Linked DNA regions of Homo sapiens: region 1 is linked to region 2. Evidence: promoter capture Hi-C in human tissues and cell types (Jung and others, 2019). All regions are on one chromosome and are shown on one strand. Each heading gives the region's core, a stretch centred on a gene start or on the middle of the fragment in contact. The rest is flanking DNA. Distances are from core to core; before and after follow the strand shown. Region 1 overlaps LOC112268104 (a long non-coding RNA gene). Region 2 holds the start of KLRK1 (killer cell lectin like receptor K1).

Region 1 (5,063 bases), core at 760-3,259, 340 kb before region 2:
ATAGCTTCAAACTCTAAAACATTTATCTTGAAAAACTGTAAAATTGATCTGTCTTTATTAATAAAACCATTCTATTATTGATTACTCTTTTTCATCTTAAATTTAATAAAAAGTCAAAGAGAAGAAAAAGCTGGCTTGAGAGTTAATGTTGCAAATCACTGCAGGTTGCAAAAAAAGAATACAATAGAATAAAAATTATTTTACTAAAACTATTTTAAAACTATATTTTATGATTTAAAGTAAAATATCATTAGGTTGATGTGTTTCTGGAAATTTGCAGCAAGCTGATCTATAAATGGAAATGGTAGTAAAATACATGCTAGTAAAGACATAGGTTCCATGGTCTGAATGTTTGTGTCTCTCCACAATTCATATGTTGAAGCCTAATCACCAAAGCGATGGCATTAGGAGATGGGACCTTTTGGGGGCATTTAGGTCATGAGCACAGGACCTCACCAATAGGATTGGCACCCAAAAGAGACCCAAGGGAGCTTGTTAGCCTTTTTGTCCTTCCACCATGTAAGGACCCACTGAAGGCAACATCTATGAAGAACAGGCCTTCACCAGACACCAAACCTGCTGGTGCCTTGATCTGCAACTTCCCAGCCTCCAAAACTTTAAGCAATGCATTTCTGTTGTTTAGAAAGTACCCAGTCTAAGGTATTTTTCTATAGCACCCCAAACAAATAGTTATCCCATCATAATACTCGTTTTTGCTAAAATTCTGCTCCCTACCATGCCACGCTTACGAAAAGACCAACAGTGATGGATGCAAGGGATTTGGCAAAAGCAAAATAAAAGAAAATAAAAAACTAGAAATATTTTGCTCACAGTACAGTAAAATTTCTGGAGATCTAAACCCTTGAAAGAAGCAGATATTATACTTCTTGTTTATATTTAGTCCATAATGTCAAAATAAATACATATTCAGATATACATTAGCAAATACTACTATTTTGTGGTCGTCTGTGTGTGTGTGTGTGCATGTGCACATGCATTTTTTTGAACATATATATATATATATATATATATATATATATATATATAATTACCTTATCATTTGGAAGTTAAAACTTGGATGGAATTTTAACAAATCTTTCTCTCTTGGAATTTTCTTAGGAACCAGTTTTCTTTCTCCCAAATTTTCTCATTCTCAATTTCTACTCCAAAGTTCCCATGTTAAAGGAACATCAAAATCCAATTAAACAGATGTCTCCAAAAGATGAGTATTTAAATAGATCATTACGGTGAGCCACTAGGGATGCTAATAGAGATCAAATGAAAGTCTGACTAAAAGGAAGAGTTCAATTCAAAGAGAAGAGAAGGAAGAATTTTGAAAAATTCTTTGAAAACTGAAGAAGAGACACATTGGATGATTTTCCTCTCTGTTTGCTGTTTGAGAGTCCCTTTTCCTCTTTGTTTGCTGTTTGAGAGTGCATTTTTAAGAATTATGATATCTACCAAGAAATAAAAGACACTATATCTTCTAGACAAGAATCTAGACTTGACATTCTCTGAGATTTAATTCCTAAACAAGTGAGGACATAAAGGGAGGTGACAAAGAAAGTTAAAAGAATAAAGAAAGCAGATTAAAACAGAAAAAAAGAGAAAAAATAGTATGTGCAAAAAGAGACAGAATAAAGCTTTTTTAGGAAGAAGAGAATATATTTTATTCATTGTTTCAGAACGTTCCAAAATGCTGTAAAATAAAATTGCACACAGCTGTTTGGTTTCCTCTCCAGAGGTCCTAATTGGAAAGATCTGAACATTACCTTCAGTGGCCAGAGAGCCTTGCTTTATTTCTTTTCTTAAGACAGGATCTCACTCTGTCACCCAGGCTAGAGCACAGTGGCATGATCATGGTTCACTGCAGCCTCGACCTCCCGGGCTCAAGTGATCCTCCCACCTCAGCCTCCTGAGTAGCCCTGAGTAGCTGGGACTACAGGCATGCACCACCATGTCCAGCACAGCTAATTTTTGCTGGTTTTTGTTTTGTTTGTTTGTTGTAGAGACGGGGTTTTGCTATGCTGTCCAGGCTGGTCCTGAACTCCTGGGCTCAAGTGACCCACCCGCCTCGGCCTCCCAAAGTGCTGCCTTGCTTTATTTTTGAGGGGACTCAATGCTACAGCATTGACATTTTGTCAATCAGAATTTTATGGTGGCAAGGGCGCTGAATTGGGTATAAGGAGACTCAGGTTTTGGTTCTAGCTTTGCCACTAAATACATAAATTAGTTCGAGAAAGTCAGTTAATCTCTGAACTGCAATTCCTTGTTTTTAAAATGAGTGGGGTTGAGATGGATACATTTCTTTCTAGTTCTTACTTATCAGATAATCTTGTCAAGTTCTTCCACCAAAACTGTACCAATCTCCTAGTCTTTAAACACTAAGAACACATCTAAATAGTTAAGAAAATAAGTAGAAGCAAAACAAATGCAACAAAGTCACTTAGAAGCTGGAACTTTTATATAAAATCAATATATGCTGAAATAATCAGGTTTTTCAAAACTTCTCAGTAATCGCTTGTTTTTTTTTTTCCTCCTGCTTAATAATTTCAGGTCTAGAGGTGCAACATTTTCTGAACTCTAAATCCAGCTTCCCATAGGGGAGAGTAAAGTCACAGCCAATTCCCCACCATATTCTCAGTTCTCTTAATGAAAAGGAAGAAATCCTATAATACATCTTCATTATGGTAGGCCAATATATGTGAAAGTTAAAGAAGAAGCATAGTCCATAAAGGCAGTGGTGACAGGGAATGGATATTGTAAATTCACTTTGTTTACATGCCCTAGAGATCATCAGTGACATCATTATAGAGTTATTCAGAATTATGGCATTATGGTTCATGTAAATTCTTTGGATATTATATGTCACAAAGGAAGCTCAAACCAGCCCAACAGGTAGCATTATCTTGCTGGGTAGCCACAGACTGATGTATGGTCCAGCTTTCAGGCCCAGGACTTTTTCCCAATGGAATCCTGAAGAATTATTCAGGTTAAACTTCTAATTGTCTAGAAGGCTTGTGCTACTCAATATGGTAGTCATCAGCCACACCGAACTCTTTAAATGTGAGTTCAAATTGAGATGTCTTAGAAGTGTAAGATACACACTTTGAAGATAGTACCAAAAAAAAAAAAAAAGAGGAATGTAGAATACATCATTCATGGTTTTACCCTTGATTAAATGTGGAAATAATATATATTTTATATTGATTAAGTTAGGTAAAATCTATTAAAATTAATTTCATCTGTTTTTTACTGTTTTATTGTGGCTGCTTGAAAATTTAAAATTAAATATTTGGTTCACATTTGGGGCTCAAATTATATTTCCAATGGGACAGTATGGGTCTATACCATTAATTCATTCAATACAGGGGCATTCCTGCCTGTTTTGCATGATGTTCTTAGCACCAAATTGCAATGATTAATAAATGTGCTGAATGCATTACTACTGAGTGCCAAACAGAGCGTGATAACCAAGGTCCACTCTCCCCCTGAACATTGCTGGAGACATCCTGAAATACCTTTACTCTCTTATTCTTGCACTTTTTTGTTCCAAACTGACCATTTCCCTCATGTTCTTTTTTGTATCAATTAAGTTGAGATTAATACTTCACTGTTTTCCAGTTTCAAATATGCTAATACACAAAGCTTCCTTATTTTAAGCTCCAGTCCCTTGAATAACTTGAATTCTCCTCAATCTCCTTAGTCAATTAATTGCATTTTCTTCCTTAGGGTGATATGCTGGATAGCCTCCTGTCAATTTAGCATCAACTTTAGCTTCTTCAAATGCAGAGACTACATTTCCCAGAATCTCCCTCCCGGCCTGTATATTTCCAAGTTGGAATCTAACAATGAGAGCCTTTCGCTCAAAGTTTAGAAGGAAGAAGAGAAGACCATTATATACCAGAGTCAGTTATAGAAAGATGCATCGGCATCAAAGCTGCTTCCAGATGAACTTCTTGAGGACTTACTGCATCGGTGTTGCTGACTGAGATAGCAGGTGCAGGAGTAAAGCTAATGAAGTTTAAATTTCAGGGCTCCTGTCTTGCACGGACCCTTTCGAAGACTCTGGGAGCAGTCCTAGCATTTTAGTATTCATAACTTTATTTTATCTCAAAAAGGGCTCTCTAAATTGTATTAGTTTTAAGCATCACAAAACCTGAATCCAGCCCTGAATTGCTGAGAACTTCCGAAAGATCTTGTGGCTCCAGTGGCTTCAGGAGAACTCCTGAGAACCACTGTCTTGGGGACTGGAGGCTGAGATCTTCAGTGGAGCTTCTCTGAGTTTCCCTCCTTCAGCCCTTCCAACAGTTGTGAGAGCTTTAACTTCCTCCATACTAGGAACAGAGTGGCATTTGTTTTTATGATCAAACCAATAATTGCTTAAAAATGACTGCTGTCAGCAATTAGATTATAATTCTTTGTTGACTTACTCTTAAACTTAGTAAATGATGATATTGTCTTACAATAGAAATGTTGATAGTGAAAAATAATTTTAACATCATATCAAAAGACCTTACAACCGGCTCCATTTTGGTCAACATTGGATACTCACAATGGTGTACTTTGTCCGGGACATAGCATTTGCTTAGCAAATATGAGTGTATGAATTAGTGAATGAAGGAATGGATAAATTTATGTGTATCTGTATCCAAGTTGCTTCCTACTTATGATTATTAAAACATAGATCATATTTGTTCTAATTTTCTTTAGATTTATTTAGTACAATACCAACAACTTCCAGCTGCTCACTGCTTTGTTTGGATGACAATGATGAGTAGTTTTGGAAGCCAGTCCAGCACAAATTCTAGGAAATCCCAGGGTGCATCTGTAATTATTTTAGGGTCTTCCAGAGGTTGGAGATCACACCTGTTAGTTATGAATTACTTCCAAGGATGAATTTTTTTAAAAGGCTTTACTGTTGGATCGGTTTGAAGAGTTCAATCTCCTTACTTTTTTTTCTTGTAATGTAATTCTGAAAGGTAAATAGCAATGATAATCATTTTGCTGAATAAGAAAGTCAATGGTCAGTCCTCACCAGAATAAATCATGTTTATAATTTA
Region 2 (4,954 bases), core at 2,037-4,536:
GTTATACCATATAGATTGCAATTAAACAATCAAAACAATGGTGTGTCCTAGCATGGATTAAGTTAATATAACACAAATATTTGCTAAAGATATTTCAATTGAATTGCTAAATTTTAGAATTATACAAAATTTCAACTGAGATGGGGCAAAAAAATCATTTAATCATTCCTGGCTTAGGAAGCTGTGCCAGAGAAAATTAATTAATTGCCAAGATGATGACCTGTTTTTCCCCAAAGTATAAATTCCAGATTTATGGAATCTCTGCCTTGAGTTCATATAATTACAATACACCAGTTAACATTATATGTCAGTATGTGTAGCCCAGTACTTAATACCTAGCTGAATGGAAAATAGGTTCTGAAAATATATATATACATATTTCTTAAAATATGTTTGCAGACTTTTTTACTTTTACATTAGTCATCATTTCACTTCTGCTTCAATATGCCCATGCGTGTCCAGACGAGACTGGATGCATCATGGTGGTGTGGCCATAGATGCCCCTGCATATCCAAAGACTCAGCTCTATTTCTTCCACTCCTTTTTATTTTCTTTATTGTCCATGTGAATTTTAAAAATTTGTCCTTTTTGACATGTCTTTTGTCAATTCAAACACATTTACCAAAAGGTCAAGATTACAAAATTTTTGCTTGGCAATAGCTGCACATCTTAAGCTTTCATATTTGGGCAAGCGTCCAGTAAACGCCTCTGACCACATCCAGCTTTAGTGTCACAGCTTGAAGCCAGCAACCTGCCAAGCACTCTGTTTCTAACCACAAGTTGGCTGCGTGTTAAGTCTTTCCTGTGTACCAGAAGAGAAGGGTTTTCTGAGGCCACAGTGCGAGTTAGCTTACTGACCAAAAAGGCCGGTTGATTGTTGGCTCTTCTCAACTAATGAAAGTAATTAAATAGTTTATTGTGGTGATGGATGTTCTCAAATGACTTGAGCCCAGGCTGTTTGCAAAATATTGTAATTTTTCTTCTAACAATAGTTTTTGAAAGTTATATAGATACGTCTATATGAAGTTTGTTCAGGTACTTTTATAGTCAAATTATTCTTTCTGCAGAAGTTAATTGCGTTGGTTTTATTTCACTTATTAGAAAGTATTTTATCTGAAAACTATGCTATGTCCTTTTGCAATTCACATAGAATAAACCAGTACAAATGCCCAGCAAATCCCCAATAAGTTTACTATCATGACTACAGCAAAGTGAGTGTATGTTCAACATTGAGAAAGAAATTGGAGTTTTAACATACTATTTCTTTATCTAACTAATTGTTTTAACCCGACATACAGGACCCATTTTAGAATTTTCTTCTTTAAGAATCCTTTCCACACTCTGTCAGTTGGTTTAGGGACCTTTATATATGACAATAAAACTCTCCCTGGTGCTTAGCTTTATCATGGTATTTATTTCAGAAATCTTCTTTTAGGTATGTGTGGGGACTTCCCAGTTGGCTGTAAGTTGCCATTTGAACTAAACGAAATAGGTAGGATATTCAAATGTTCTTTTTTATCCTATTCCTATCCCCCTTTTCTCAATTCTGTATTTAAGAGACAATCTCTATTCAATCGAAAACTACATATATAAAAATAACTCTTCAGGAAATTGTGATTCAGGTTTTTCCCATAAAAAGCCTGCATTTACTCATTTATTCATTTCCTTTCAAAAACCAAATATTTGTTAAAATGTAGTTGTTAGAAAATATCAGCCTATATTTCCTCTATATAGATCTATTTTTACTATATAAAATAGCTAATAGAAAATGTTGATTAGCTGAAAAGAATCTTGGTATGTCAGAAAATAACATATTTTCTTCAACTTGTTTTATATTCACCTATCTTGTTTAATTTTGAATTTGTTTTATACTTATTCATTTTATATCACCTAAACTAAAAAGTAATTTCCAGCTGGGTGTGGTGGCTCACGTCTGTAATCTCAGCACATTGGGAGGCTGAGGCAGGAGGATCACCTGAGGTCAGGAGTTCGAGACCAGCCTGACTAACATGGTGAAACCTCGTCTCTACTAGAAATACAAAAATTAGCCAGGTGTGGTGGCACATGCCTGTAATCCCAGTTATTCTGGAGGCTGAGACAGGAGAATTGCTTGAACCCAGGTGGCGGAGGTTGCAGTGAGCCGAGATCGCCCCGTTGCACTCCAGCCTGGACAACAAGAGTGAAACTCCATCTCTTAAAAAAAAAAAAAAAAAAAGTAATTAATTTCCATGTGGGCAAAAACTTTCTTTTGGATTGTTTACTTTGACATTCTCAAGATCTAGAAAAGTGCATAGCAAATAGCATTCGCTAAAGAAAAAAAATGTTGAATAAATTTATTGTCCAACTTTAACACATCACCACATGAAAGCTGTTTTCCTTCCTTATATTTCAGAGTTTTAAGATTAATAGCTTTGGTTTTTGTTAAAATGTTATAATGTGTTCATCTTATATTACTTTATATGATGTCTTATGTTAGTATTTTAAATTAATAAACATAAAATATATATTTAGCTTATCTTGTTCATTGGTATCAATTCATATATTATTCTTATGTATACTGGGGTATATATTTAAGTTTCTAATTCTCCTGCATATGATGTAGATATGACAGAGATGCAATTTCATGTTTTTTATATTAAAATTTAAAAATTCCCAGGACTAATTTTTTGTAACTTAAAGGCCAGTGTGATAGTAACCCAGGACAAATTATTGAATAGGAGCTAATTTCCCACTTTATCTGCAATGTTACCTTATATTTTTTAATCTATGCACATGACTTTTTCTTGTCTGTATTTTTACCCTTCTCAATTTGTCTATCTATGCCCCACATGCCACTTTGCCTTTATTAATACGGTTTTAACATAGGTCTTACTATCTAGTAAAACAAGGCTCCCACATTTTCTTCATCTTCAATTGTGACTTTCCTAGTCTTGACTTTTGTAATTTAATGTACATGTAGAATTCTGCTTTGTAAGTTCTACAACAAAACCTGAGGTATTAACTGGAATTGAATTGAATCTCTAAAATATTTAGGATTAAATGGCATCATTTAAATTCATCATTTTCAAATCCTAAAATGTTATTTAAAATAATGGCAAAACTACAATTACTTTTGCACCAACCTAACATTTATCCAACAATGGGTGGTCTTAACTCTTTTACCAAATTAACAATATTTTTGTAGTGATAAGGCGGAAGTACTGTGGTTTATGTTTTTCCACAGGAAGATGAGATTATAATATTTGTCACATCTTTCTCAAAGATAGAAATTCACTAAGTATCTCCACTTTCAATTCTAGATCAGGAACTGAGGACATATCTAAATTTTCTAGTTTTATAGAAGGCTTTTATCCACAAGAATCAAGATCTTCCCTCTCTGAGCAGGTGTGTGTATGTGTGTATGTGTGTGTGTTTATTATTCAAGATATGAGAAATTATATTTCAACCTCAAAAAAATAAAAATATTTACACTATAAGGTAATTCTAATTGTTTCTTAGATGCTTGAATAGAACTCCTGAGGATACGGAATGCTTATCATTTCTGATGTATATTCTATCACTGTATCTGATGATAGGTAATTAGGATATACTTATTGAAGAATCAGAAGTTGTAATATTACTATAAGAAGAAGCCTTGTCTCTAAGCAAAACTAGAAAAATGAATCTTTACATTTAGGATGAGAAGAATTGAGATTCAATTTAAATTGTCAAATTTTTGAGTTTTCTGATGCTGTAGGGGGCACTTACCTTTGATACACATCTTTACATGCAAGGTGAAACAAGTTATATCTGTGCTTTCCAACTATCATAATCAAATATGAAATAGCTTTTATTTTTGAAATCTAAGCACTATGCTTATTTATTAAATGGTTTTTTCTGGAAGCTCTGCTGTGCATTGCTAAGATGTTACTATATAAACATGTGAGATTAGTTTTGTTAATGATGATGGTGATGATAATTTGTTGATGATGATGATATGGGCACGTTGGATTAAAATGCACTAGAAAAGGACATTCAACAAAAGTGCATATAACTTACCTGAGTTTAGCTTGCAGAAAGAAAACTAAATTATTGCCAGATAAAATAAACAACTGGAAACACTTGATCTTAGCTAAAAGGCCAAGAAGCAATAAACGACTATAAACAGAAAACTGGGTGTGTTGTTATCTAATATCAGTAAAGTAAAATATTGGTATTAAATATCTCAATGTAGGTGAATTAATAGGTTCATTATATTGTTATGACATTTTGAAGTAATTGGCGATTATTTTACAACCAAGAGAAATGTATAAAATTAATTTTGCCTGGCTTTATGTGAATTGTCATTTCTATTCTTTTCTTAAAGGCATGCACAGGGGAAAAGTTTCTGCATTTTACTTTTCTATTCAAAATATTTTATCTCACCACGGGAAAGAGAACAAAAAACAAATGCCCAGTTTTATTTTATTCAGGAATCCTTTGTGCATTGAAGACTTTAGATTCCTCTCTGCGGTAGACGTGCACTTATAAGTATTTGATGGGGTGGATTCGTGGTCGGAGGTCTCGACACAGCTGGGGTATGTTTTTACCACATAAGTGTGTAGTTTTGTTTTTATACAATTTTAAGATACCAAGAATTTCATACAAGCATATAAGGCATAGGCAAGCAATTTACTCTGATTCTTTTCATGTTCTATTTATGTTGATTTCATGTTATGTTCATATTGTATTTTAAATCAAGTCTTCCAAAACTTAAAAACTTTTTTCCCTTTATTTTATTAACTATATTATGGTAAAGTCGCTCACAACTTGGGACAGCTTGAAATAGTGAAATAGATGTGGAGTCAGACTTGAATTTTACTCAAACTTTTACCGCTCTCTAGATTTGAAGGGTCAATTTGCAACCTCTGTGTAGTTTAGTTTAGTTTCTTTTTCTATCAAATACAGGCATGAAACATTCCATATTTATCTTAGA

Evidence for each region. Contacts are between HindIII fragments. The study calls those that stand out against the background at their distance.
Region 1: a contact is called between a fragment that was not itself captured here and the fragment with the promoter of KLRK1 in region 2, in 1 of the 25 tissues and cell types used here (hippocampus).

Annotation. Positions count from the first base shown.
Region 1 is chr12:10,724,949-10,730,011 of GRCh38, reverse strand. LOC112268104 (a long non-coding RNA gene) reads left to right here. Exons shown (of 4, transcript XR_002957443.2): 4 at 3,733-3,820. It overlaps LOC124902876, which reads right to left. Exons shown (of 2, transcript XM_047429946.1): 2 at 4,694-4,975. The coding sequence ends at 4,906. Among named protein-coding and RNA genes, the nearest start is that of YBX3, 4.2 kb to the right of the region's middle. The HindIII fragment of the contact is 5,604 bases long and covers 1-4,811 here.
Region 2 is chr12:10,388,373-10,393,326 of GRCh38, reverse strand. KLRK1 (killer cell lectin like receptor K1) reads left to right here and starts at 3,286. Exons shown (of 8, transcript NM_007360.4): 1 at 3,286-3,384; 2 at 4,452-4,556. The coding sequence starts at 4,517. It overlaps KLRC4-KLRK1 (KLRC4-KLRK1 readthrough), which reads left to right. Exons shown (of 13, transcript NM_001199805.1): 6 at 1,436-1,492; 7 at 4,452-4,556. The coding sequence starts at 4,517. All of the region lies in intron 3 of KLRK1-AS1 (KLRK1 antisense RNA 1), which reads right to left. The HindIII fragment of the contact is 5,458 bases long and covers 1-4,954 here.